Regions from separate parts of the Homo sapiens genome. Here regions 1, 3, 4, 5, 6 and 7 are each linked to region 2. The links are contacts of gene promoters, found by promoter capture Hi-C in blood cells and fetal thymus (Javierre and others, 2016). All regions are on one chromosome and are shown on one strand. The core of a region is centred on a gene start or on the middle of the fragment in contact, and the rest is flanking DNA. Distances in the headings are between cores, read along the strand shown. Region 1 overlaps HNRNPU (heterogeneous nuclear ribonucleoprotein U). Region 2 holds the start of AHCTF1 (AT-hook containing transcription factor 1). Region 3 overlaps COX20 (cytochrome c oxidase assembly factor COX20). Region 4 overlaps CATSPERE (catsper channel auxiliary subunit epsilon). Region 5 overlaps ADSS2 (adenylosuccinate synthase 2). Region 6 overlaps DESI2 (desumoylating isopeptidase 2). Region 7 has its middle 9.3 kb from the start of DESI2.

The links. The method cuts DNA at HindIII sites, captures the fragments that hold promoters and counts their contacts. A CHiCAGO score of 5 or more calls a contact.
Region 1: a contact is called between a fragment that was not itself captured here and the fragment with the promoter of AHCTF1 in region 2, in 2 of 17 cell types (fetal thymus and non-activated CD4 T cells). The highest score is 6.0, in fetal thymus.
Region 3: a contact is called between a fragment that was not itself captured here and the fragment with the promoter of AHCTF1 in region 2, in 2 of 17 cell types (fetal thymus and non-activated CD4 T cells). The highest score is 8.8, in fetal thymus.
Region 4: a fragment that was not itself captured here is called in contact with the fragment with the promoter of AHCTF1 in region 2 in 2 of 17 cell types (non-activated CD4 T cells and fetal thymus); the score reaches 8.1 in non-activated CD4 T cells.
Region 5: a contact is called between a fragment that was not itself captured here and the fragment with the promoter of AHCTF1 in region 2, in 3 of 17 cell types (total CD4 T cells, non-activated CD4 T cells and fetal thymus). The highest score is 6.9, in total CD4 T cells.
Region 6: a contact is called between a fragment that was not itself captured here and the fragment with the promoter of AHCTF1 in region 2, in 2 of 17 cell types (fetal thymus and total CD8 T cells). The highest score is 5.8, in fetal thymus.
Region 7: a contact is called between a fragment that was not itself captured here and the fragment with the promoter of AHCTF1 in region 2, in 1 of 17 cell types (non-activated CD4 T cells). The highest score is 9.5, in non-activated CD4 T cells.

What each region holds. Positions count from the first base shown.
Region 1 is chr1:244,857,248-244,860,030 of GRCh38, reverse strand. HNRNPU (heterogeneous nuclear ribonucleoprotein U) reads left to right here. Exons shown (of 14, transcript NM_031844.3): 5 at 657-756; 6 at 1,190-1,302; 7 at 1,757-2,020; 8 at 2,314-2,433. Among named protein-coding and RNA genes, the nearest start is that of SNORA100, 4.4 kb to the right of the region's middle. The HindIII fragment of the contact is 302 bases long and covers 1,374-1,675 here.
Region 2 is chr1:246,929,253-246,933,316 of GRCh38, reverse strand. AHCTF1 (AT-hook containing transcription factor 1) reads left to right here and starts at 1,369. Exons shown (of 36, transcript NM_001323342.2): 1 at 1,369-1,739. RefSeq lists enhancers at 987-1,036, 2,157-2,246 and a silencer at 1,717-1,816. The HindIII fragment of the contact is 4,479 bases long and covers 1-2,411 here.
Region 3 is chr1:244,836,038-244,839,794 of GRCh38, reverse strand. The region is part of intron 1 of COX20 (cytochrome c oxidase assembly factor COX20); the gene reads right to left. Among named protein-coding and RNA genes, the nearest start is that of COX20, 2.3 kb to the right of the region's middle. The HindIII fragment of the contact is 1,385 bases long and covers 1,459-2,843 here.
Region 4 is chr1:244,464,202-244,468,528 of GRCh38, reverse strand. The region is part of intron 2 of CATSPERE (catsper channel auxiliary subunit epsilon); the gene reads right to left. Among named protein-coding and RNA genes, the nearest start is that of CATSPERE, 5.1 kb to the right of the region's middle. The HindIII fragment of the contact is 6,278 bases long and covers 1-4,327 here.
Region 5 is chr1:244,442,816-244,446,773 of GRCh38, reverse strand. All of the region lies in intron 1 of ADSS2 (adenylosuccinate synthase 2), which reads left to right. Among named protein-coding and RNA genes, the nearest start is that of ADSS2, 7.1 kb to the left of the region's middle. The HindIII fragment of the contact is 1,046 bases long and covers 1,165-2,210 here.
Region 6 is chr1:244,660,804-244,664,766 of GRCh38, reverse strand. The region is part of intron 1 of DESI2 (desumoylating isopeptidase 2); the gene reads right to left. Among named protein-coding and RNA genes, the nearest start is that of DESI2, 9.7 kb to the right of the region's middle. The HindIII fragment of the contact is 3,314 bases long and covers 514-3,827 here.
Region 7 is chr1:244,641,790-244,645,933 of GRCh38, reverse strand. No RefSeq gene overlaps it. Among named protein-coding and RNA genes, the nearest start is that of DESI2, 9.3 kb to the left of the region's middle. RefSeq lists an enhancer at 2,659-3,212. The HindIII fragment of the contact is 7,093 bases long and covers 1-4,144 here.

The sequences.
Region 1 (2,783 bases), core at 275-2,774, 2.1 Mb after region 2:
CTGTGCCCAGCCTTTTTTTTTCCTTTTTAAAATAGTGACAAGGTCTCACCATGTTGCCCAGGCTGGTCTTGAACTCCTAAGCTCAAGTGATCTGCCCGCCTGAGCCTCTCAGAATGCTGGAATTACAGGTGCTTCATACTGCTAAGTTATCAAAGGTACTTATTTTTGAAGCTTCCTGTAAATTAAAAGAGGAGCTTGGAACCTTCATTTTGTTGTGACAGTTAATCACGGTTGTTATGTTAGAACTTGCCATGCAGAGCTAGGCGATTTTTTATTTAGGGTACTTCATTTTTATCAAGCATTTGAAAGGGCCACCAAAGAGTTAAAAATAAAATTTGGTTACATTACTGCTTTTGTTGGTGAGAAAAACATTAATTGTATCCTTTAATTGGCTTTAAGTTAAAGACTGACAACATGAACTTTAAAAATATTAAGTATTCTTTTAAATATGGGTCAAATAAGTATTTAACTCTTTAAATTTCAAGTTATAAGCACATCAGTTTAAAGTTCTTACAAATATTGGGGGTGGGCTAGAGTGTGCCTTCTTTGTATTTATAGCTAGAGGAAGATTAGCCCGTGGCGCAATGAAATATGCGAGAGTTAAGGGGTTACCTCCTTGGTGTATTATTTTAATTATTTAATGATTTGACTTTCAGGTTACAGAGAAGATCCCAGTAAGGCATTTATATACAAAAGATATTGACATACATGAAGTTCGTATTGGCTGGTCACTAACTACAAGTGGAATGTTACTTGGTAAAGCTTCTTTTTGACTGATGTGGGCTCATGAATGTTCAGGAGGGTCTGATTTCAGTGTTTTTTAACTAGAGGGCATTCTAAGCCTTTTGTCTGTTTTTATCTATTCTGTTAATACTTCAGACAGGTAATATTAGCACATAGTAGGCACAGGCTACATTTTAGTTTTTGTTCCTTTATTAGAAGTTTATGACCAATGGTTGAAATAAAATCTTACCCGTGATATGCAAATCGTCAACTAATTTGGTCTCTGCGTATATATCCCTCCTAACTTCCATCAATTCTGGTACAGAGATAGAAAAGTAATAGTGTCAGTGACAGGTGATTAGGTTATATGCTTATTTCTCTTGTAGCCTACATCTTAAGTAGTAAAATAGATGAGTCTTTGGACTATTTTAAACATCTACTTCATGAAGATTAATTATTTTCTTAGGTGAAGAAGAATTTTCTTATGGGTATTCTCTAAAAGGAATAAAAACATGCAACTGTGAGACTGAAGATTATGGAGAAAAGTTTGATGAAAATGATGTGATTACATGTTTTGCTGTAAGTTAAAGCTAACTTTCTATGTATAAATGGCAAAGTTAGTAGCTATATCTAGGAACTTTAAAGAAGCTTTACTGAGGTCAGTTTTCAATATGAGCAACAAAATACACCAGTCCCTGGATTAGTGTAAAGACTTCATTCAGCAGTTGAATTGGGAAAACACAGGACATTTTTGAGGAACTCACTAATTCATTTTGACTGAAAACAGTGAACATGAAATTGACCTAGAAAATTCAGTCTAGCTTCTAGGTCAGTATTGTTTCTGGTTCTGGAGATACGTGCTTCATGGTTTACAACCATCAGATTTCTTAACTGTGTAGCCCTTAAAGGCCACCTAATAGTTCTTTAACCTGTAGCTTCCACAGGATAAGCTTTGCTCCTAATTTTAATTCTTAGTTTTTTAGAAAGTTTAAGGAAGCAGATTTTAACTGTTGAATTTTTTTCTGTGTAACAGAACTTTGAAAGTGATGAAGTAGAACTCTCGTATGCTAAGAATGGACAAGATCTTGGCGTTGCCTTCAAAATCAGTAAGGAAGTTCTTGCTGGACGGCCACTGTTCCCGCATGTTCTCTGCCACAACTGTGCAGTTGAATTTAATTTTGGTCAGAAGGAAAAGCCATATTTTCCAATACCTGAAGAGTATACTTTCATCCAGAACGTCCCCTTAGAGGATCGAGTTAGAGGACCAAAGGGGCCTGAAGAGAAGAAAGATTGTGAAGTAAGGGATTTTTTTTTTTTTAACTGTGGCATTTGAATATTGCTTGCCTGGCACAAAATGACATTTAGAAGAACTAGATGATTAGTCTGTTTCATTTACTTTGTGCTGTGCATATTGCTCTTAAGTAATTGTTTCCCCCTTATGTTGACTGTTAATCTTTCCATAAACAAATTTTTGTCCGTTAGTGTAAGGGCTATGAAAACTTAGATATTTAAATTGGCCTTAACAATATTTAAAGAATTATTAGGTGGTGTCTACTGACAGTGAAATGACATTTCTTTTCTTTTCACTAGGTTGTGATGATGATTGGCTTGCCAGGAGCTGGAAAAACTACCTGGGTTACTAAACATGCAGCAGAAAATCCAGGGAAATATAACATTCTTGGCACAAATACTATTATGGATAAGATGATGGTAAGTAAAATGTTTAGGGCCTGATCTCAGTGTTTAAAATAGACTGGGAGAGGCTGGGCATGGTGGTTCACGCCTGTAATCTCAGCATTTTGAGAGGCTGAGGTGGATGGATCACCTGAGGTCAGGAGTTTGAGACCCACCTGGCCAACATGGCGAAGCCCCGTTCCTACTAAAAATTTAAAAATTAGCTGGGTGTGGTAGTGGGTTCCTGTAATCCCAGCTGCTCGGGAGGTTGAGGCAGGGACAATTACTTGAACCTGGGAGGCAGAGGTTGCAGTGAGTTGAGATCGTGCCATTGTACTCCAGTCTGGGCGACAGAGCAACACTCCGTCTCAGAAAAAAAAAAAAAA
Region 2 (4,064 bases), core at 120-2,619:
ACTAAAAATACAAAAATCAGCTGGGCATGGTGGCGCACACCTGTAGTCCTAGCTACTCTGGAGGCTGAGACAGGAGAACCTCTTGAACCTGGGAGGCGGAGGTTGCAGTGAGCCGAGATTGTGCCACTGCACTCCAGCCTGGTGACAGAGCGAGACTCCGTCTCAAATAAATAAATAAATAAATAAATAAATAAAATAAAAAAATTAATGGGACGTAGTGGCGCATGGTGGTCCATGCCCATAGTCCCAGCTACTTGGAGGGCTGAGGTAGGAGGATCATTTGAGCCCACGAGTTCGAGGCTGCTGTGAGCCTTGATTACACCACTGCACTCCAGCCTGGGCGACAGAGCGAGACACTGTCTCAAAAATAAAAAAATTTAAAAAGCACATATGAAAGGTAACAGAAAAGTAGAAACTTTCCTGATAAAAGAGCATCTTCTTAAAATCCCTACTCTACCTCATGTTATAATCCTTTTACTTACTACTTAGTATTAAGGATACGTTCCCTATCTGTTTGAAACATGTTTGGCGCTGGGATTTGCTTCAAAGGAAGATACTAACAAGAAATAAGAAATTCCACAATGAAAACCCGCGGTGACCAAAAAGATAACAGTGATTTGGGGTAAAATTTTGACTAAAAAGATTAGGCTAGGCTGCGCGAGCATTTTTGGCCATGAAAGCACAGGAGGATGCTAGAAAAAACAGCACCGTGGAAAAAGCGTTTCCCCAGAAGTCTGGGAGCCCACCTTTGGCATGAAAAGCGGGAGCACAGGTTGTAGTGAGCCAAGATCGTGCCACAGCACTCCAGCCTGGGCAACAGAGCAAGACTCCGTCTCCAAAAAAAAGAAAAAGAAAAAAAGAAAAGTGGGAGCACAGAACAGAAAATACAGAATGCAAGCTGCCAATTATGGGAGAAAGATTATCACTCGGCCCCCAGCTGGCAGGGCCACACGATTACGTGACAAGAGAGTCCGCCTGCAATCGCAGCAGGCGGCTGGCAGAGCCCGGCGCGACCCCCAGCGAAGACTACCACTCCCAACTGCGCACGGGGCGCGCCGCCGGGGCCGCCAGGGCGGCTTCACGCGCAAGGCACTGTGGGACTCGTAGTCTTTCTCCCCACCAGCTCCTCGGAGGCGGAGAGACCCGATTTTTTTGTAAATGATCCGCCCTTCCAGGCCCTGCTTCTCTTTCCTCCCTTTCCCTCCCACCTCCTTCTTTCACCGAGAGTTTGAAAATTCCCGCGGAGCCGGCGCTAGAGCGCGGAACCATCGCGAGAACTCTGGTCCCTGCAGCCGCGATCTCCCGCCGGTTCTCCCCTCCCTCTCCGCCCTTTCCTCTGCTCCCTCCCTTCCGGGGCGTGTGGAACTCGGTTTTGTCGGCGCAGGGTAATGCGCAGAGCGGGGCCGGCGCTGTCCGAGGCGAGCAGGCAGCGTTGCAAGGGGAAGGACCCAGAAGCGCGGCGGGAGCAGCGACTGCGTTTTAGCCGCTGAGCGGTCTGCAGGCCTACAGCCCGCGAAGGCACTCTCGGGGGCGTGTGGCTCTGAGGTGGCCGGGGAGGTCGCAGGCGGCGGCCGGAGCGCAGAGGAGCGGCTTCAGCCGGGCGGAGGGGTGTGAGCCCGGCCCGTGGCGGCCACGTCTCCCGGGAGATGCTGTGACGGACCCGCACGGGAGGAGCTCGCGCCTGGCCTGGCGACCCGGTGGACTCGGCCCGCGGCGGCGCGCTCACCCGCCCCGTTCAGGTAGGGGGAAGGGAGGGAGGGGGTTGGGCCCGCGCGGCGGAGGGCGGGTCGCGCGGCCTGGACCCGCGGCGGCGGCGGCGGCGGCGGCGGCGGCGGCGGGGCTTCTGCCCCGCGAGCGCCGGGCCTAGGCCGGGCGTGCGCGGGGCCAACGGATGGGGCTCGAGGGGGCGAGCGGTGGCGGTGGCGGGTACGGCAGGCTCGCGGGCGCCGGGCTTCGTTACATAATCTCGGACCGGAGGAGCGGCGGCACATGGCGGCGGAGCGGCGCTGGTGGTTCGCGTCCTGCGCCGGCAGTCGGGTCCCTTTACGGACGGCCGGGGCCGCGACCCTTTCCCACTGTTCTCCCACGCGATGGACTCGTTGGCGGGCCTTTCCCCGAGGGAAGCGGCCGGCGTGCTGAGCCTGTCCTGTGTTGGCGTGTGTTCCACATGCGCTTGGGCCTGGCCACAGTGAGTAGTCCTGGCGGGGAAGAAGTTGGACTCGGGGCTCAGCCGTGAGGTTCCAGCTCACCCGATTGGTCAGATCAAGGAGATTTAAAATAAAAGCACATCTTGGGGTGCTTTGCCTTCCTTTTTCCTACCTGGGAAACAGGACGGTTTCTTTTGCCACTGGTTGACTGTTTTGGTTTGGGTGTTTTGTTTTGAGAGATGGGGAAATTTTGTTCTCAAAGCTTACGAGGTTCATACTATCTGTGTGCAAAGTTTTATGAGATGAGCGTTATTTTTATTTCCAAATCGTCAGTTGTAGAAATTTTTGGAAGAACTGGGTTCTTCATAGAACAAAACGTAAATCCTTTGGGGAAATCCTAAACGATATTTATTCTCAGAATATCCTAAAGAACCTGTAGATTTTAAGAACTGTCTTTGGCTGGGCGCAGTGGCTCCTGTCTGTAATCCCAGCACTTTGAGAGGCTGAGGCGGGAGGATCGCTTGAACCCAGGAGTTTGAGACCAGCCTGAGCAACATGGCGAGACCCCCCCTTTTTTTTTTTTAAACTGTTTTTTTGTGAGCTTTCACTGATAGAGTCTCTTAGGAGAGAAGAAATTAGAGTGGTTTACTTATTTCGGAGGATTTGACCTGGGATGACAAGCCCAGTTAAGGTTAATACTTGAAGGGATGTTTTAAGTGTGCCAAGCGCTATGGGAAGTCTACGTTGTCTCTGTACTGTGATTTTTGGATCCTGATCCTTCAGTAACATACTACCAAGCTGTCACGAGTTTGCAAACAACAATAATTATCTTGAAAAAATTTTTAAAACATCATGTCAACCGGGAATTGGTGGCGCCTCTAGTCGCGCGCCTACTTGGGAGGCTGAGGCGGGGGGAACGTTTGAGCTTCAGCCTCAAACTGAGAGTTCGAGGGTTGCAGTGAGCTAGGATCGCGCCGCTGCACTCAGCCTGTGTGACAGAGCGAGAACCTGTTGCTAAAATAAAATAAAAAAGATCGTTATACATCAGTTTTGAGACTTTTGTTTTCTTTTTATGCTTCTCCTTTTTCATAGGTACAGATACATCTTTTTTTTTTTTTGAGACGGGGTCTTGCTCTGTTGCCCAGGCTGGAGTGCAGTGGCACAATCTTGGCTCACTGCAACCTCCGTCTCCCAGGTTCAAGCGATTCTCCTGCCTCAGCCTCCTGAGTAGCTGGGATTACAGGCGCACGCCACCACACCCGGCTAATTTTTGTATTTTTAGTAGAGACGGGGTTTCACCATATTGGCCAGGCTGGTCTTGAACTTCTGACCTCGTGATCCGCCCGCCTTGGCCTCCCAGAGTGCTGGGATTACAGGCGTGAGCCACCGCGCCCGGCTGGTACAGATATATTTTAAGAGGAAGCAAAACGTTGTGTCTTTCACGCCTACCTTTAATATTTTCAGGGACTTTTCTTTCTTCCCAGAATGAAGTGTAACTTCCCTCGGTTAGCTCAAAGGTCTCTACAATAAGTATATGCTACTGTCTATCCTCATATGTTAACAAATTTTATGCTTTTGCTATTCCAGAATCGTCATCAATCCTGGACTCATTCTGTGGAAGAGATGTTTCCACTCTGATGTTTCTTTGCTCATGTCCTTCATCCTGGAGTGCCATCTTTCCTTTTTTAAATACTCAAATTTCAGGTCCTCCTTCTAAATCCAATGTTTTCACTGTATTTTTATTTTTATTTTTATTTTTTTGAGACGGAGTCTCACTTTGTAGCCCAAGCTAGAGTGCAATGGCGTGATCTTGGCTCACTGCAACCTTCGCCTCCAGGGCTCAAGCGATTCTTGTGCCTCAGCCTCCCGAGTAGCTGGGACTACAGGAACGCGCCGCCACACTCGGCTAATTTTTTG
Region 3 (3,757 bases), core at 902-3,401, 2.1 Mb after region 2:
AGAAGTAACCAAGGCTGGAGGGTTTGGTGGGGAGCTTTCCAGTTGTCACATATCTAAGGAGTAATAAGATTCAGTACATAAATCCCTGCAATTTCTATCAAAACAGGAAGAATATGCAACGACTTGAGCCTGTATACCTTTACAGTTAAGTACACTGAACTGTAAAATGCTCAGAAGTGGAGATGAATAAAGGATCCCGGGCATAACTCCCTTTGAAGTATTCTATTTATATACGGAAATATTCTGTTCATAATATACATGCCTTTAACATTTCTCTTCTATTCCTTAAGTAGCCTGCATACTTAAGATTTAACTCTTTGCCACTAACAAACGGGAACCCTTAAAAATAAATTAAGGAAATGTCAGACATTTTTTAAGCTTAGATTTAGAAAAGCAGCTTTACCAGCTCACCCTGATCAATCTAAGGAAAGCTCAAGAGATTTCCAAGCCAGAATGTCAATAATGTATAGAAATAGATCTGATCAAATTAGAGACAGTTGATTTTCCACCACTAAATCTGCTTCAGTGCCCGTATTTCTTTCCTCTGGTTGCAAAGGATGAATTGGCCCTATTCCTATCTAATGCTAGTCTTCCCACTTGGGCACTTGATTCCCCTCTTGCATACTCAAGGGCTTGGCTTCTATAGCTACCCCTTTCATTTGCATCGTTAGTTTTTTCACTTGCAATAATTTACTATCAGCCCTCTTGGCCAGGTGCAGTGGCTCACCCGTCATCCCAGCACTTTGGGAGGCCAAAGTGGGTGGATCACTTGAGGTCGGAAGTTCGAGACCAGCCTGGCCAACATGGCAAAACCCTGTCTCTACTAAAAGTACAAAAATTAGCCAGGAATGGTAGCACATGCCTGTAATCCCAGCTACTCGGGAGGCTGAGGCAGAATCGCTTGAGCCCAGGAGGCGGAGGTTGCAGTGAGCCAAGATGGCACCACTGCACTCCAGCCTGGGCAACAGAGCAAGAAGACTCCATCTCAAAAAAAAAACCCAAAAATCCTCTATACACCCCTCTCCTCTCATCAGCCACCTAAACCACCATCCTTTTGGGGCAAAACTTCTGAGTGTAGGTGTGCTTTTCTACTTAAAACCTCCCATTCTCCCTTTAACTCACTTGAGTGAGGCATCTATCCACTGAACTTCACTTGACACCAGTCAAGACCTCTAAAAGACATCCACTGCAGTCTAAATCCGCATCTCAGCATATGTGGCACAAATTATCATTTGTTTTTGAAACTTTTTTACTTTTACTTGGCTTCAAATACGTCTCCTGGTTTTCTATTTCATTGACATTTTTGTTGCTGTTCCCTCCTCTACAGACCTGATTCTGAAGTGCCACTCTTAACTCCTTTGGAATCTAGTCTCTTCCTAGGTATCCCAAGGCTTTCAATTAAATGCCATTATATGATGACTCCAGATTTCTAAATCAAACCCTAATCTCTCCCAAGCTTCAGCCTCATTCATCTGCTTAATGAATGACACTTTTATGTATAAAAAGCACCTTGAACCTCGTATTTGCAAAATATATTTTCACCTCCAAACCTTCCTCTTAATGGCACACTACTCAACCAATTTTCAGACCCAAAAACTAAGAGTCATCCTTGATTCCTTCATCAAATCCACATCAAATATATTAGCAAGTCTGGAAGGATCCACATTCTAAATACATCCTGAGCCAGACCACTGCCCACCAACTTCATTGCTAATACAGGTTGAGCATCCCAAATCTGAAACTGATACATCAAAAGACAATTTTTTTTTTGAATTGGGAAGCTCAACCTGTCCTATCAAATTACCATCTATCAACAGTACCTTTCAGATCTTGATTCTACTCATAAAAATGTGTATCAGATGACTATAATAAGTCCTCTGTAGCCTCCGATTATGCTCAGAATCCTTACCATTGCTCCAAAGGCCCTACATGATCCCATGCTCTTTCATATCCTACTCTTGTCCACTAGTCCAGGTACAGTGGCCTTGCCATTCTAACAAGCCGAGATGGTTATTACCGAACGAACACATGCTGCCTTTCTCCTGGATCTTTGCATGACTGGCTCAGTAGAAGTCTTGCTTATTGATTCCTCCAGTAGAATGTCAGCTCCTTAAAGGGATTTTTCCTGTCTTGATCAGTCTAGTACCTCGTTCAGTGTCTAATACTCAGTAGGTACTCTAAATATTTTTTGAATGGGTGAATTAAGAATTTACCTGAATGTGAATTTACCTGTATGTACCAAATTTCACATTTTAAAGTTTCTTAAAGGACAAGAATGTGGCAGAGGACAGTTTTTAGGGGCTAGTTCTATCAAGGTATGCCAGCTTGGTAACTCCCATTTTTACTTTAGGTTTGCTAATTCTTATAATAAAATAATCCTCCCTGGGTTGTGCTGGAATGATCACTGACAAATTCTTTTAAAAAAAATAACCGCAGGCTTCCTTTCTGACAGCACCTTGGGCTGTTAATTCATCATAGCTTCTATTAATTTAATTAGCTTTTTGATGGGCTCTGATAGGTACTACTGTTTCATGAGCAATTTTTGTTTTTTTGGCCTCCCACCTCTGACTGTGCTCGGTTTGAGGCTTATAACTATCTTCATTTCAACAACTACAGTATTGTTTTGCTACTTACTGATGGGCCAGTTAAATAGGTCAATGTTGATCCTCTTTTAAGTTTTTTTTTTTTAATTTCCAATGGATTAAACCACCTTTATGACCTTTAAAAACAGCAGTTATCTCCTACCAAAAGTCCCATTCAGGATTCCAGTGTTTATCACAAAACTGAATCTAGGATTTACTGTGTGTATGCAAAGATCTTTTTTTTTTTTTAAACACTAAGCTTATTCCAGATGGGCAGTGTATGGGACAGTAAAAACAGATAAGGCACCAGTAGTACGTAAACTGACAACCTGTTGGATATTAAGTATGAAAACAATTTATACAATATTTGTTAATATTAACCATATGATCTGATGTCATGGCCAAATTTGGATGGAAGCCCACCAGAGAAGCAAGCAAGAGCAAGAAGTGAGCAGAATTTCCAAGCTGGGAGAATATCTTAAGTATATATTAGGAGCCATTTAGCACACAGTGGGTCTTCTATAAATATTTGCTCGTGATTAGCCAATGTTACGATCTCCCTAGTTTATATTAAACTTTTTTCCTCTTGCATTATTCTTTTCTGAATACCTGTTCTGCCCTGAGGATATAAATTAGGTTCCCTGCTCTTAATAAGGAGCCCAGGAAAAGAGGAAAACAAGATCATTTATTACCTTCCAATATGATAAATGTAACGACGTACAAGATGCCTGGGAAGATGGGGAAAGTACGTAAGTCAGCTTTGGTGAAACACAGGAGCCCTTCCAGGGAGAGCGCTTGGTTTAGCTTTACTATACCAAGAATTTGGGTTTTATCCTTAAAGAGATAGGATGGGCTGCTACGACTGGATGTTAGGCAGAGGAATGAAAACTGTCCAGTTTACAGGCTGGAAAGGGCCAGCGGACAATAGTGGAAGGTGGATTCAGGAGAGTATGGAGACAGGGACACCAGCTAGGGAGGCTACTGGTGATGGGGAAGAAATCTTAACCCTTCATCTCATCGTAGTACAATCAAGTCATCCCTCAGCAATTACTCCTATGTTAAATGTGATGAATACAACGTGTTAAAGACAAGGCACCTGTCCTCAACGGAGCTTTAATCTCTACTATTAGCCTTTACTAACAAATTACAGTGCAGTGCCCTTAGCAGCAAAATTT
Region 4 (4,327 bases), core at 1,265-3,764, 2.5 Mb after region 2:
GTCCAATTTGCATTTCTAAAATGACATAGCTGTTTTGGTGGTCATTTATGAATTAAAGATGGACCATTTCTGCCACCTACATAAAAATAATAATGGAAAATCGAGATAAAAAAGATGATTCTTAAAAAGACCAATAAGGCTGGGTGTGGTGGTTCACGCCTGTAATCCCAGCACTTTGGGAGGCCAAGCTGGGCAGATCATGAGGTCAGGAGATTGAGACCATCCTGGCTAACATGGTGAAACCCCGTCTTTACTAAAAATACAAAAAATTAGCCGGGCGTGGTGGCACACACCTGTAGTCCCAGCTTCTCGGGAGGCTGAGGCAGAAGAATTGCTTGAACCTGGGAGGCAGAGGTTGCAGTGAGCCAAGATTGCGCACTGCACTCCAGCCTGGGTGACAGAGCGAGATTTTGTCTCAAAGAAAAAAGAAAAAAAAAAAACAATAAAATGGTCCAATACATGGCAAAACTGTCCAGGAAAGGAAGATAAAGTGCCCAAATAAACTCTATTAGAGACATAAAATAGCTAAAAATAGATATTGAAATGGTAAGCAAAGATTATAAACAAATGAATAGCAATAAATTTGAAAACACAATTGTAAAAGAAAATATATATTACATAGATTCCTCTTGCCTGGTATGGAATATTATAAAGTTTATACAGAATGTGTTCTTTTCTGTATGGCTACTTTCACAGAGTACAGTGAGATTCATCCATATTGTTTTGTGTTGACATGTAGACACAATGCACTTATTTTCATTTGCCATATAGTATCCTACTATGTGAATACACAGAAATGCATTTATCCCTCTATACTACTGATTGACATGCTACTGGGTTGTTTCTAGTTTGGAGTTCTTAGGAATAATGCTGTCGTAACCGTTCCTACATAGGTCTTCTGGTGCTGGATGTATACCTAGGAGTCAAACTAGTGTGTCACAGGATACGTATATATTCAACACTATTGGATAATAGCAAACAGGTTTTCAAAGTGGTTATACCAACCTGCATTCCTTCTAGTGGTGTATTAGAGTTCCTACTGCTTTACATTCTTACCACCCCTTGTTATCTTCAGTCTTCTTAATTTTAGGCATTCTGATTGGTTTGTAATTACATCTCCCTGTAATTTTAATTCACACTTCACTAATTTTTCATAAGTTTGCTGGTCATTTGTACATCCTTTTTTGTGAAATATCCCCTTAGGTCTTTTCCTCCTTTCTTTTTTATACTTTAGAAAAATTTAAACAATACTGAAATGATGTGCTTCTTAAAGATTTGGTAGAATTCCCACACAAAACCATCTGGGCCTGGTTCAAATTATAAATATTTATTTATTTATAAAGGGAGCACAACACTGATAGAAAACACAACAGAAATTGTTGAGTTATTTAGTAAAAATTAACTAAAGACTCCTGATTCTAATTTACGAGTGATACCACACAGTGCTAGGAATTGACTGTTGTGTATTGTATTCTCAGCCATGATCATTCATTCCTGCATAACTCTAGGCTATCCCTAGATTGCAGGAGCTGGAAACCAGGAACCCTCAAGGGTTCTGAACGACTGAAAATCAGATGTGGACTGGAACTTGTAAAAAAGAGGAAGCCATTCTTCTTCCTCAGGCAGTGGTACCAAAAGTCCAGGCTTCAAAGATAGGTGGTTTTGGGGAAGGCCTCTGTCCCATCTTTCCATTGAGCACCATCCCTCATTAGGTACTGGGAGAGACTTGTGACATGGGCACCTATTTCCTCCAGGTCCTGATCTCTGGTGGCAACAGCAACTTTTTGACTATTGATAAACCTAAAAATTAGTGGGGGTTTCTAAGACCCTTGCTTTCCTAGCCCTCCCAACAGTTTGGTGAGCACCTAATTTCCTGTAGCAAATAAATTTCTGCTTGAAATATCTAGAGTGGTTACTGCTGTCCTCTGACCCCTGACTGCTACACGCTCCCTTAAAGACAGGGATAATATGACAAGTGTTTAACAAGTTGTACAGCACAGACACTGACAGTTCCAAGCGAATACCAGGCAGCATGCTACCCAAGTGTGTACTGGCTGGATTCTGCCTGCCTTAGAGGGCATCTGGAAATATGGAAGAGTATCTCAGGTCACACAATCCCTGAGGATTGTCACTGCTACTTAGTGTTTGGGAACCAGGGAAGCAAGCTGTTCTGCAAAGCAAAGGATAGTTCCATACAATGAAAATTTTTCCTGCTCAAAATTTCAGTGGCATCCCCACTGAGATAACTGCTGTGGAGCAAACTCATGTATGAATATTGATAAAAGAATCTTATATAAAATATTAACAATAGTCCCTGAGAGCATATTGAACTACTACATTGGTACCGTGTGGGGTTTTCCCAAAATCCAAGGATGATACAATAAAAGTGAATATGTTAATATGATTCACTATGATAACAAGTCTGAGAAAACTCAAAAACTTTTTTCTGTAGACTGTGAAAAGGCATTTCACAATTCACTATAAGTATCACTTATAGCGACTATTTTTTACCATATTCAATAAATTAGGAACCAATGAATACTTAGTTAATTTAATGAAATGTATCTCTCTCTGCCCAAAAGGGAGCATCTGTTTAATTGGGAGATGTTGGAAGAAATCTACTAAAGTTAGGAAGAAGATAATGAGATCAACTCTGGAGGGCTACATCATTCTTCATGAATTGGAAGATTCAATATCATAATGATACCAGTTACTATGATAACAATGTCAGTTCTCCCCAAGTGCAATCCCAATCAAAATCTCAGCAGATTTTTGCTTGTGAAAACTAACAGCCTTATTCTAAAATTTATATAAAAACGCAAATAGCCAAAGTAGTCTTGTGGAAGAACAAACTAGATGTTCACAGGACCAGATCCGAAGACTCATTAGAAAGCTATAGCAGTTAAGAGAGTGTAGAATTGGCACCAGGACAAATAAGAAAGTTCACAAACAACTCATCTACATACGGAACAAAGGTGACATGAGAAAGGTAATAGGGGAACAGTGAGTTGTTTAATAGATTCTGGTTCATTATGTGAAAAAAGTAATGTGAATGCCTATTGTACTATATACAAGGCAGACTCTAGATGGATTTATGACCTATATTTTAAAGGTAAAAATATAAGAAATATAAACTAAAATTATAAAAACATTTCAGTTCAGGGTAAGCAAATATTTTTATTAAATAAGAGCCCTGGACAGGCGCGGTGGCTCAGGCCTGTAATCCCAGCACTTTGGGAGGCCGAGGCTGGTGGATCACGAGGTCAGGAGTTCAAGACCAGCCTGGCCAATATGGTGAAATCCCATCTCTACTACAAGTACAAAAATTAGCCGGGCATGGTAGTGTGCACCTGTAGTCCCAGCTACTCAGGAGGCTGAGGCAGAAGAATCGCTTGAACCCGGGAGGCAGAGGTTACAGTGAGCCAAGATTGCACCACTGCACTCCAGCCTGGGTGACAGAGTGAGACTCTGTCTCCAAAAAAAAAAAAAAGGAGCCTCCAAAAGTTTAAATCATAAGGCAAAGGAGGGGAGAGATTTGGCTCATCAAAATTCAGCTTTTTTTTTTTTCAGTAAAGTATCCATGAACAAAGTTAACAGAAACTTGAGATAACTGAATCTTTGAAACCAACATTTGATTAATTTTTACAACGCAATGTAGATAGCACTGTGTTAACGAGTAAGAAAAAGGCAGAAAATTAAATGAAAAATAGGCAAAGGGTATGAACAGGTAATAGAAGGAGAAGCCTACATAATATGCGAAGAGATGCTCAAAATCACTAGTCATCAAAGAAACTGAAAATAACAACAGCAATAGCTATCACTGGATAATAATGAGATTGGTAAAAAAAAAATAGGAAATTTAATAACACCAAATTTTGGTGAAGATGTACATTGAGTGAGAATATAAATTGTAACTGCCATTCGGGAAACAATCTTGCGGAACTTTGTTAAATTAAGTGTATTTCCCATGGCCAGGCAACTCTATTTGGCTACATATAGCAGGAAAATGATTGCACAGATACACAGATACATAAAAGGACCTATAGAGGACACTCATTCCAGTATTGTTTGTGATGGTAGGAAGCTATATGTCCAGCAATAGGGGTATATAAAATATAATTGATTTACACCAGTAATTAGGCAGATAAGAAGAAATGAAGTAGAAAGTGTTGAATAAGAAAAGTAATATAGAGAATGAGGTCTATAGTTTGGGTGACCATACATCCTGATTTGTCTAGACAGTTCTAATTTATACCTGTTGTATAATTATTAATAGCACTCCCATTCTCATGGGTTTAGGCAATATACTGAATGGTTATCCTACCTA
Region 5 (3,958 bases), core at 438-2,937, 2.5 Mb after region 2:
GTTTATACATTTTTGGTTGGATGTCTTATGGCCTCATCTATGACCCTGGTTTGGTGAGTGTGAAAGAATATTAGAGTTTGGTACCCAGAGTCTAAAGCTTCTTAGGAACCTAAGATTCTCTCAGGCAAGGCCCCTTTCCACTTTCATTGTGAGAAGTTATTTCATAATAGTAATGTTAGGTCTAAAATATAAGGTATCTGAGGTTTTCATCATTTGTGACATTTATGTGTGTATGAAACTAGAAGGTAACTATAATCATGCAAAGTAAAGTGGATACCTTTAAACCTTTAATGGATAACTGAGCTGGGATATCTTTGCTAGAAAGAAATTCAGATACCCTGTGTATTTTTTTCTCTTGCTGTCTAGTGTGTCTGGTTACTGCTACATAGTTAAATTTGATCAACTTGCTGGTAGTAACTTAACCTGCTCTACTTTGGAATCATAAGCTAATTGCAGTTATGTGAATGCTTTCATGAAAGAACAATCATCATTTATAACTGCTTTATTGCTGTGGATTGATAAGTGCTTTAGTTTTGGTGAATGGTAACATGTTTCATCTGGAAAGGAGGAGACACAGATCTTACAATCTTTACCCTGAAAGCAGCATAGATAATAAGCATTGACTCCAAAGATTTTTAGGCTCTTAAGAAGTTTGAAGATTAGACAAAAAAATAGCAACCCTTTTTTGGTTGCTGAAATAGTTCAGGGGCATGGGATCTGAGACACTGCTGCTCTCTCCTGTAATCCATAGTGGCCACTGACTTCCTGATGTTCATTTTGAGCTCTGTGATTACAGTAGGTTGTTCATATATTCAAAGCAAAAGGACAAAGATAAGACACAGAGGCCTAACTAGCCTGAAAAATGCCTCTGGGCTTTGTGCATGAAATTGGTAGCCCTTGACACTTGGGCCTGTATTCTGGAAAAGAGACCATTGTTTCAGGTTTACAACACTGAGGATCATTCACTGCCTTCATCTCTCTACCACAGCAGAAATGCACTTGGGGGAGCGAAGAAAGGAGTGATTTAGGGAAGGAGAAGGCCCAGTAGTGAAACCAAGTTAAGAATCAAGAGTCACTTTTGTAAACTAATATCATTTAATTCCTTTCCAAACTTTTTTTTTTTTTAACCTCCCCTGGACCTTTGGAGCTTCTTAGCTAGAAGCTTACACATATTAGCATTTCCTGATCCAAAATTTTATTCTATAATTGGATTTGACAGCCTCTGGTTCTGAGGAGTCATGGAAAGAAAATTCAAAACACTTGTCTTCCGACTTCCTTAAACTAAACATCAAATTAGGAAGAAAAGGAATGCATGGAAAAACTGAGAACAGTTACAGAATAACTAAATACTATTATATCATTCCTCTATCCTGCAGTAATGCTTTAAAGTATTGTCCTTGACAGCATAAAATGTTATTAATATCTAGCAATCATTTTAATATTCAGTTTCACTAGTACAAGATGTAAATTCAGCAAGGTGTATATTATGTTGTAGTAAGTTTTTTTTGTGAATCATTTGTGTTCTTTGTTTGCAAGCAATGGAAAGAAACTATCTCAAGCAAAATGGGGATTTGTTTAAAGGAAGAGCAGGATGGTGGCCTGAGATGAAGCCTGCTCCTGGAATTTCAGCAGCTAGAACTGGCAACCTTTTTCTTTAGGATGCTTCCCGTAGGTGACAGGCATCTCAGACTGCTATTGCTTTCCTTCTCAGTACTCAAATTCAGATTCCCAAGGGAGAGGAGCTGACTGGCTCAGGTTGGAACATGTTTCCCTGCCTGGATCAGTTTGCTGTGGCTGGGGGGATGATTCCTATGATTTGCAAAGTAGGGGAAAAGGAGGGGGACTGAGCATACAAAAGCTATAACTAACCTGGAGTTAATTTTGTATAGGAAAATAAGGTATGAGGAAGCATTTGTTCTGGATTGTTCTCATTTATAAATTGTTTTCCAAAACTCTAATGTGCTATTGACCTGTAGTGCTTTTCTGGAACAAAAAATAGAGTTAAATTGGTTTTTATTATTTTAACCTTAATTAAAATAATGAAAATTAGCTATGTATTGATGGTAAAAACTAAAAGCATACATCAGAAACTTTGCTTTTCAGCTTTGAGAACATAGAATTTTAGTCCTGCTTTTTGTTTCTATCATGATGTTCCAGTTTATTTCATAGCTCTGTGATGAGATACATTTTTTCCTGGTAATTAAGAAGCTTATTTAATATTTTCTTTGTATTTCATCTTTTTTTTTTTTTTTTTTTTTTGAGATGGAGTCTCGCTCTGTCGCCCAGGCTGGAGTGCAGTGGCGGGATCTCGGCTCACTGCAAGCTCCGCCTCCCGGGTTCACGCCATTCTCCTGCCTCAGCCTCCCAAGTAGCTGGGACTACAGGCGCCCGCCACTACGCCCGGCTAATTTTTTGTATTTTTAGTAGAGACGGGGTTTCACCGTTTTAGCCGGGATGGTCTCGATCTCCTGACCTCGTGATCCGCCCGCCTCGGCCTCCCAAAGTGCTGGGATTACAGGCGTGAGCCACCGCGCCCGGCCTGTATTTCATCTTAATGTAAGAATAACAGTCAAAGAAAATTGGTAAAATATATACTATATTAGGGGATGTTTTGTGACTGCAATTGAATTTTCTTTCATATATTGTTCACTTTAATAAAATTAACCTGCATTTATTCTTGGTATTTAATATAAGAAGAACATCATATAAGGCATTATAAGCTTATGCTTTTCCTCAAAGAAACCTGCCACGTAGCTACTTGTGGACTCATGCTGTTTTTTGTTTCTTGGGGTGTTGGTGGGGGGTAGGGTATATTTCAGAAGTAAAATGGTTTAAAAATTGGCCTCAACCTGAAAGCCTGCCATGCAGTGTTGTGGCACTGATGGAAGTGTGAATGAGAAGGCGGTGTCAGCACGTGGCTGGAGAGCCGCTCCGCCACTCTGCCACTCCGCCTCCCTGCCACGTGGCTTGTGAGGAGCCACTAAACCTTTCCGTGCCTAGGCCTCCCCATCTGTGGAATAGTCAGTACCACCTACTTCATAGGGGTGTTGTGCGGACTGAAAAAAACAATGTCAAATGTTTTTAATATTCAGATGCAAGGATGATGTCTGAAATCTGTACTGTATAAAGGCTACACAAAAATGGACAGACATTTGGTTGACTGTGCCAGATACCAAAAATGTACGTTCAGAAAAGCATTTTACCAACTCAGAAATATGACTTATTTCTAGGAAAAACAAAGTTCAAAAAATTATCTCTGAGATTTATTACTAAATGTTTTCCCTGTTGGATATAATTGATCCAGAAACAACGTTGAGATTCCACAGCCCTTTGTTTATATAACTATTAATTGAACATATTCTATTTTTTTGTTAAGTAATATAGAATATACAGCTATGATAATGAAAAGTATTTGTTAAATGCTACAAGAGTGACTGGGATCATAAGTGTTACGGGAGTTTGGCAAAGAAGCAGGAGGTAGTTAGTGTAACTGTTAATGTGATTATAAGACTAATACATTTGTGGGAGATAACTTACCAAGTTTGGTTTGTGGAAAATTTGGATTGAGAAGGAAATTGTATGTTTCCGTTAGAAGTAGAACAACAACAACAAAATATCTCCCATCATTTGTTTGGTACTATCTGGCCTCCCCAGTGCTGCTTGGGAGAATCATGAAACATGATGAATCAAACACATCCTTGCTGTTGCTCATCCTGGCACATATTACACAGAGTTGCCCATGGGCCCATGTAGGAGCAGCTCCATCTGCCCTTCTAATACATAGGTGGGAGACTGAGGGGGTGCTCGTATTTGAAACTGTTTTTGGTTATGGTGCTCATATTTGAAATGCTTTGTTTTACTGTCTGCTAATATGTGACCTCTCCTTGAACCAGTATAATCTCTGTTTGAGGACAATTGCCTGAGCTCCCAAGGTGAATTTTGCCTATTTACATAATCT
Region 6 (3,963 bases), core at 921-3,420, 2.3 Mb after region 2:
AATAGGGGATTTTAATTTATTTACTGTCATTTCATAACTTATATGCTTGGTCCTATTTGTATTTATTTTTGAGACAGGGTCTTGCTCTGTTGCCCAGACTGAGTGCAGTGGCACAATCATGGCTTACTGCAGCCTCGACCTTCTGGGCTGAGGCAATCCTCCCATCTCAGTCCCTTAAGTAGCTGGAATCACAGGCATGGGCCTGGCTAATTTATTTATTTTTTGTAGAGATAAGGTCCCACTACCACCCACCTCAGCCTCTCAAAGTGCTGGGATTACAGGCCTGAGCCACAGTGCCTGGCCTTGACTTCATTTCATATTGAACTTTTCTCTGTTTTTTCTATTACACCATATGGATTACGTCTTCGTTGCTCTTTTCCCTGTAGGTTTGATTTTCTCCCAATAATACATCTTAATGAAAAAAATTAACACATACACTCAAATATAATCTTCCAAAACAAGAATTAAGTATATTTACAACACACGTCCTTCTATATAGGGCTGCTACAAGCTTTTACCTCTTCTCTCTCACCCAAGGTTTGTTCAACATAACCTGAAAACTTAATTTTTAAAAATCATCATGCTTGTTCTCTTCAAAGAGTAATTCTGGACACTGGCCCTGTTTTTAACCACAGTTATAAGATTTAGCTATGTTAAATGAGTATTGATGGCCATGGCCTTTCCTTTTAGTGTAACCACCCCATTGTTAAGTTCTTAAATAATTTTTTTTTTTTTTTTTTTTTTTTCCTGAGACGGAGTCTCACTCTGTCGCCCAGGCTGGCGTGCAGTGGCGCAATCTCGGCTCACTGCAACCTCCGCCTCCCAGGTTCACGCCATTCTCCTGCCTCAGCCTCCCGAGCAGCTGGGACTACAGGCGCCCGCCACCACGCCTGGCTAATTTTTTGTATTTTTAGCAGAGATGGGGTTTCACCGTGTTAGCCAGGATGGTCTCGATCTCCTGACCTCATGATCCGTCCACCTTGGCCTCCCAAAGTGCTGGGATTACAGGCGTGAGCCACCGTGCCCGGCCAAGTTCTTGAATAATTTTTTAACCCCCAGAAAGGTATCTACATATTGTCTATGTCCTTTTGTACATGAATGACAACTGGAGAAGCTATAGTATTCAGACATAAATCTTTTCCCTTTTAATACTCTGTAGATAATGCTCTACTTTATTATTCAGCCTTTGGTATAAGCAAAGAGAAGTCTGAAATTAGCCTGATTTTGTTCCCGTGTAACTTTTTTGCCTTTGTGTATTTGTAGGATTTTTTACTTTATTCTTAAAATTTGCAGCCAGGTGCGGTGGCTCACGCCTGTAATCCCAGCACTTTGGGAGGCTGAGGTGGGCGGATCACGAGGTCAGGAGATCGAGACCATCCTGGCTAACATGGTGAAACCCCGTCTCTACTAAAAATACAAAAAATTAGCCGGGCGTGGTGGCAGGCGCCTGTAGTCCCAGCTACTCAGAAGACTGAGGCAGAAGAATGGCGTGAACCCAGGAGGCGGAGCTTGCACTGAGCCGAGACGGATGCCAGCCTGGGCGACAGAGCGAGACTCCATGTCAAAAAAAAGGAAAAAAAAAAACTGCAAGTTAAACCAGGCTTTGGTTGAATGGTCCTAACTTTTAAAAAGTTTTGCCTATCACTTGATCCTTTTGACCCTTCTACTTGAATTTCTGACTTTCTAAATCTTGTTGTTTTCTCTTTAGTTCCCAATCTAACTCCCTTTCTAGTTAAAAATTAGGAAATGGTGCTTTTCATTTTTGTGGAATCTATCCTAATCCCAGATTTTTCCCTTTCTGGTGGTACTGCTTGTTCTATTTTCAATGATCCTACTGAATCTACCTGAGAACTTAAATCAACAATTCCTTAAAAACTTCTCTTGTTTCTTGCTGTACATTTACTTAACAGGTAGCATGTGGCCCGATTTACAGCCTTGATGTTTGCTTACCCTCTGTCTGGAACACTTTCTCCTTTCTACATGGTATACTTCACCTTTCAGGAATGCCTTCTTAGTGAGGCCTTTCTTGACCACTCTCTTTGAAACTGCAGTAACCGGTAACTATACCATCCTGACTTACACTGTCCCTCCCCTTCTTTGCTTTACTTTCCTCTTTAGCACTAATTACCACTTACTATCTCATATATATTTTATTAGCTTTATTCTGTTTAATAGACAGTTTAGATAGATGAGTTTGGCATTATTTAACTATTTTCTGGATAAAAATTTCAAAAAACAAAAAACATCCTGTTTTCATCAATGGGGGTGGAGGGAAGAATATGATAGAAAAGATGTCAGTTCTTCCCAAGTTAATTTATAAGTTTAGTGCAAGCCCAATTAAAAAAATCTATGGACTTCTGGGTATATATCCAAAAAAATCGAAAGCAGGACTTGAATAGACATTTTTATTTTTATAAACCCATGTTCACACACCATTATTCATAACAGCCAAAGGATGGAAGTAACCTGTGTCTAATGACACTGAAAATTAGCTTGATTTAGAAAAAAACAAACAACCCCATCAACAAGTGGGCAAAGGACATGAACAGACACTTCTCAAAAGAAGACATTTATGCAGCCAAAAGACACATGAAAAAATGCTCATCACTGGCCATCAGAGAAATGCAAATCAAAACCACAATGAGATACCTTCTCACACCAGTTAGAATGGCGATCATTAAGAAGTCAGGAAACAACAGGTGCTGGAGAGGATGTGGAGAAATAGGAACACTTTTACACTGTTGTGGGACTGTAAACTAGTTCAACCATTGTGGAAGTCAGTGTGGCAATTCCTCAGGGATCTAGAACTAGAAATACCATTTGACCCAGCCATCCCATTACTGGGTATGTACCCAAAGGATTATAAATCATGCTGCTATAAAGACACATGCACACGTATGTTTACTGCGGCACTATTCACAATAGCAAAGACTTGGAACCAACCCAAATGTCCATCAATGATAGACTGGATTAAGAAAATGTGGCACATACACATCATGGAATACTATGCAGCCATAAAAAATGATGAGTTCATGTCCTTTGTAGGGACATGGATGAAGCTGGAAACCATCATTCTCAGCAAACTATCACAAGGACAAAAAACCAAACACCGCATGTTCTCACTCATAGGTGGGAATTGAACAAGGAGAACACTTGGACACAGGAAGGGGAACATCACACACTGGGGCCTGTGGTGGGGTGGGGGGAGCGGGGAGGGATAGCATTAGGAGATATACCTAATGTGAATGATGAGTTAATGGGTGCAGCACACCAACACGGCACATGTATACATATGTAACAAACCTGCACATTGTGCACATGTACCCTAGAACTTAAAGTATAATAATAAAAAAAAAGAAAATTAGCTTGATTTCTGTGGCATATACATACACAGTGGAATATTACTCAGCCTTAAAAAGGAAGGAAATTCTGATACATGCTGCAACATAGATAAACCCTGAGGACTATGCTAAGTGAAATAAGCCAGTCACAAAATAAATACTGTATTATTTCACTTAAATGAGGTTATCTAGTCAAATGCACAGAGACAGAAAGCAGAATGATGATTACCAGGGACTGAGGGGAGGGAGAAATGGGGAGTTGTTGTTTAGTGGGTATAGAGTCTCAGTTTTGCAAGATAAAAAAGTTCTGAAGACTGGTTGCACAAAAATGTGAATATACCTAACACAGTAGATTGTATAGTTAAAAACGTAAATTTTATGTTATGTGTATTTTAACACAATTAAAACAAAACAAAAACCTATGGAATTTTTTTCAGCGAGCCTTACAAAGTACTCCTAGAAAAGGAAATGAAGGCCAATAAAGCTTTGGAATAATAGTAAAGGGAAACTGGCCTAATCAGATTCCAAATATAACGTGAAAGTATAATAATTAAAACAGTGTGGTAATAAGGCTAGAATCAACAATTCCGTATGGGTAAGAATTTAGTATTATGATTAAGGA
Region 7 (4,144 bases), core at 372-2,871, 2.3 Mb after region 2:
TGAGACCTGTGTGTAATAGTCCTCAAAATGTCTGCTTATTCCTCTTTCCCCAGGAAAGTCACCTGAGTAAACAGCCACAGGTCTCTGGGGGAATTGTCATGGTATATATAATACTTGCCACAGTGTTGCAGGATCCTTCTTCCTGGGAACCTGGCCGCCTCTTCAGTCAATGGGTTCTGGGTCTGAAAATGTACTCTGGGTCTCGGGACTGAGCAAGGGACCATGACTTTTTACTGGGGCAATGTCCCTCAGCCTCTTCTTTCATTCTTGTTTGTTATTATTATTGTAGACATTAACCAACAGCCTTGTAGGTCGGGGGGCACCTGTTGCCCTGTGAGGCCGAGGCTTCTGCAGCATCTTGTAGTACAGCAAAAGGGCTAACCCTTAATAGGGAGCAGTGGGCCATCTCTGCGTGCCCAGAGGCGGGTGGGAGGGGTGGAGGTTGCAGAGCTCAACACCTTCAGAGGCATCCATCCAGATTTTCCTGTCCTAGTTTTTAGGATCAAAAGTTTTCTCTACCAGGGCCTCAACGGCCCAGTAACAGACCTAAAGTAGCTGTGTGCAAACATTTCTGGAGCCCTGTGACTCCCAGGTCTTCAGCTTAGTGTTCAATTGTGTCTGCCTTTTTACTATTGGTGACGATGACCTCTTTATAAGAGACACTGCTTTTTATTCTTATCTCCATTAGCTGCTATGGCTCTCGGTCTCCACTTTGTGCAGGTCATTAGTATAACTCAATCATGTCTTTGTGATCCCCATGTTTTTCAAATCCCTTTACCATTGCACCTGCCATAGCTTTCCCCTCCACCAGGACATTTCCTCGGGTCACTATCAATGAAAACATTAAAAACTGAACCACCACCTACAGCCCAGGACTATCGCTGACCACATATCCCTTAGGATGGCTTCCTGTCTGCCTTCTGGGTGCTGGGTGAGCCAGTCCCAAATTACCATCTGACTGCCTGATTTCTCAGACCGCTCACTTATGACTTGTGCTAATCCAGGTCCTCTGAGAAACAGTTACTAACATGGGATTCAATGTGCAAGGATTTCATGCAGGGAAATACTTGTGTGAAAGGAAATAAAGAGCTGTGGAAGTTGAGAGACTTACCAGAGAGAGAGCGCGGGAGAGAAATGGTGCAGATTGAGATTGGATAGAGTTGCCTAAACTGCTGTGCAATCTAAGGAAGGTTTGGTAACACCTTCGGGAGTCCTTGAGCCAGGCTGATAAGAGTCCTGTGTCTACCAGCACTGGGTCTTCCTTAGTTTCCTCACTGCACTCGGTCACAGGTGGGGAACAGCCTGAGGGGCTGCAGGCTTGGTGCAAATGTGGTGATGAGTTTCAGAGGGCAGCAGCTGATGCTCTGGGTCAATTACACTCCTGCAGTGGGAGACTTGTGAGGGACAATCTCATGGCCTCCAGGAACCACTGATCTTCCTGCGAGCCTACTTACCACTGTGACAGGAGGGAAGCCAGAGTTCATGAGTAATGAACTTTCACGAAATATTCAATTCTTAGTTTTCAGCACAAGATCTAATTCTCTCTTGCTGACTCGAGGATTTTGATCCAGCGATTACCTCTTTCCTCCTGTATCATCAGTTTCTCCTAGCTACTGGATTATTTCCACCCATATTCAGTAACCTCTTCCTGACCTCACTTGTGCTCAGGTGCCTGCCATTTCTTTGCTCCTTGTCAAAAAAAAAAAAAAAAAAAAAAGTGAGGTGGGGGGAACTTCTTGAAAGAGTTGTCTGTACTTGCCTCCACTTCTTCATTTCCCAGCTCTTTGCTCACAGTAAGAGCAGCTTTACTTTTTATGATTAATTAAAACATTTAAGTACAATGTGGTGGGAAGTAGGAAGAAAGCAAATAGCATCCAAAATTACATCATTTTGTTAGGGGGAAGGGAAGGACAGGGAGTGATTTGTTAAAGCAGTGGTCCCCCACCTTTTTGGCACCAGTGACTGGTTTTGTGGAAGACAAGTTTTCCATGGACAGGGCATGGGGAAGGTGGGGAGCGGGAATGGTTTCAGGATGAAACTGTTCCACCACAGATCATCAGGCATTAGATTCTCATGTGGAGTTTGGAACCTCCATTCCTTGCACGTGCAGTTCACAATAGGGTTCGCACTCCTACGAGAATCTAATGCCACTGATCCGACAGGAGTTGGAGCTCAGGCGGTAATGCTCTGGTGGGGGTTGGGGACCCCTGTGTTAAAGGATACAAATTACAGCTAGATAAAAGGAAGAAGTTCTCCTGTTCTATAGCACTGTAGGATGACCGTTAGTTAATAATGATACAGAGTTTCAAATAGCTAGAAGGAGGATATTGAATGTTCCCAACACAAAGAAATGACAAACGTTTGAGATAATGGATGTGCTAATTACCTGATCTGGTTACTATACTTTATATGTATAAAACCAGCACTATGTACCCCATAAATATGGACAATTATTATGTCAATTAAAAAATATTTTCCTCAAAAAATGACATCATTTGAAGTTTGGTGACTTCCTTTGTCTTTACGTGCATACATATTGGTTTACATAGAAAGAACATTTTCCAGGCTGCTTTTCTATTGTTCCCCTTCACCCCAGTTTGGAGGGCCTTGTTTCTCTCTCTCTCCATCTCCATCTCTTGATACAGCCCCACGCCCCCTGTCGTGTACACACACGTGCATGCCTGCACACACAATGGTACGTATACTGCTGAAACGGGGCAGGTTCTCTTATCCCCCTGGCAGGGCATGCGATAGGCGTGTGGCTTGCTTCTTTGGTTCTCTGCCGCTCACACCTCTGGGAGAGCATGCAGACGGGCAGGTTGTGGGGCTCCGACCCCGGGCAATGTCTAAGGGCGAATGTTTACAGCCGAAGCCCCAGTGGGTGTGTGTTACAGGGTGTTCGTTCAGTTGAGCTGTCCATAGCAGCATGTGTTAATCAGCTCAATGAGGCCCTTGCCTTATTGCAAGGACAGAGGCTTTCTGTATCTTGGGTTTCTTGCCTTAGTGTACCCGAAGAATCAGATCACACGTGGGCTTGATTGAAGAATGAATGCAAGGTTTTATTGAGTGGAAATAGCTCTCAGCAGATGGGGGAGCCAGAAGGGAGATGGTTTTCCCCTGGAGTCGGGCACTTGGCAGCCAGTCTCTCCTCCCACCGTCCCGGCCAAACCCCCAAACTCCGCGTGGTTCCGCTGATCAATGGCCTGCCGGCTGTGCTCTCCAGCCCATGTGCTTCTCTCGGTGTCCAGCCGCCTGTGTGTTCTTTCGCTAATGTGTGTTCCTCTCGACGTCCAGCCGCTTGTTGTCTCTGCCCACTAGGGTCTTGGGGTTTTTATAGGCACAGGATGGGGTCGTGGCAGGCCAGGCTGTTCTTGGGAAATACAACATTTGGGTGTGAAGGCAGGAGTGCCTATCCTCACCTAGGTCCGTGGGCACAGGCCTGAGGGCGGATCCCTAGCCAGGGACCTGCCTTTCTCTACCCAGCACTTCCCTGTCCCCCGTCCATATCACTGCCATGCTTTCCTCCATGTTCTCAATCACACAACATTTATTTTGTTTGCATAAAAATAGGATCAGACTATAGATGCTTCCCTGCAGCTTGCTTTTCTCATTTAACAAAACCTTGTTAAAAACCTTCTAAGTCACTTAGCACAGACTTTGTGGTCAACGTACAATCAAACATTTATTCAACCACTCCCTGTTCACCTGTTGCTAGGTGTTAATTCTCTTTCTAGAGTTTTGCCACAGTAACTAATGATGCCATCTCTCTATATATCTGTATCTATCTATATGTATAGCATCTCTATCTATTCATCCATCCATCTACACCCACACATATACACATATCCTGATATACTGGTCCTCCCCATCCCACTGTGTGGAACGATTCCTAACAGTGGGGTTGCTGGGTCCAAGAGAGTCTGTATTTTTAATTTTAACAGATTTTGCCAGATTGCTTAAAAAAAAACTACAGCGATTTACATTTCCTTCAGAACTGCAAGATAATTTCCTTCCCATCCCTGACCCCCATTCCTTCTCAAGTATTATCACCCTTTGGAGTTTTTGCCGTCAGGTGAAAAATGCTGCCACACCGTGACTTTGGTTTGTATCTTTCCGACTGCCAGCCAAGGTTGAGTTTCCTTAG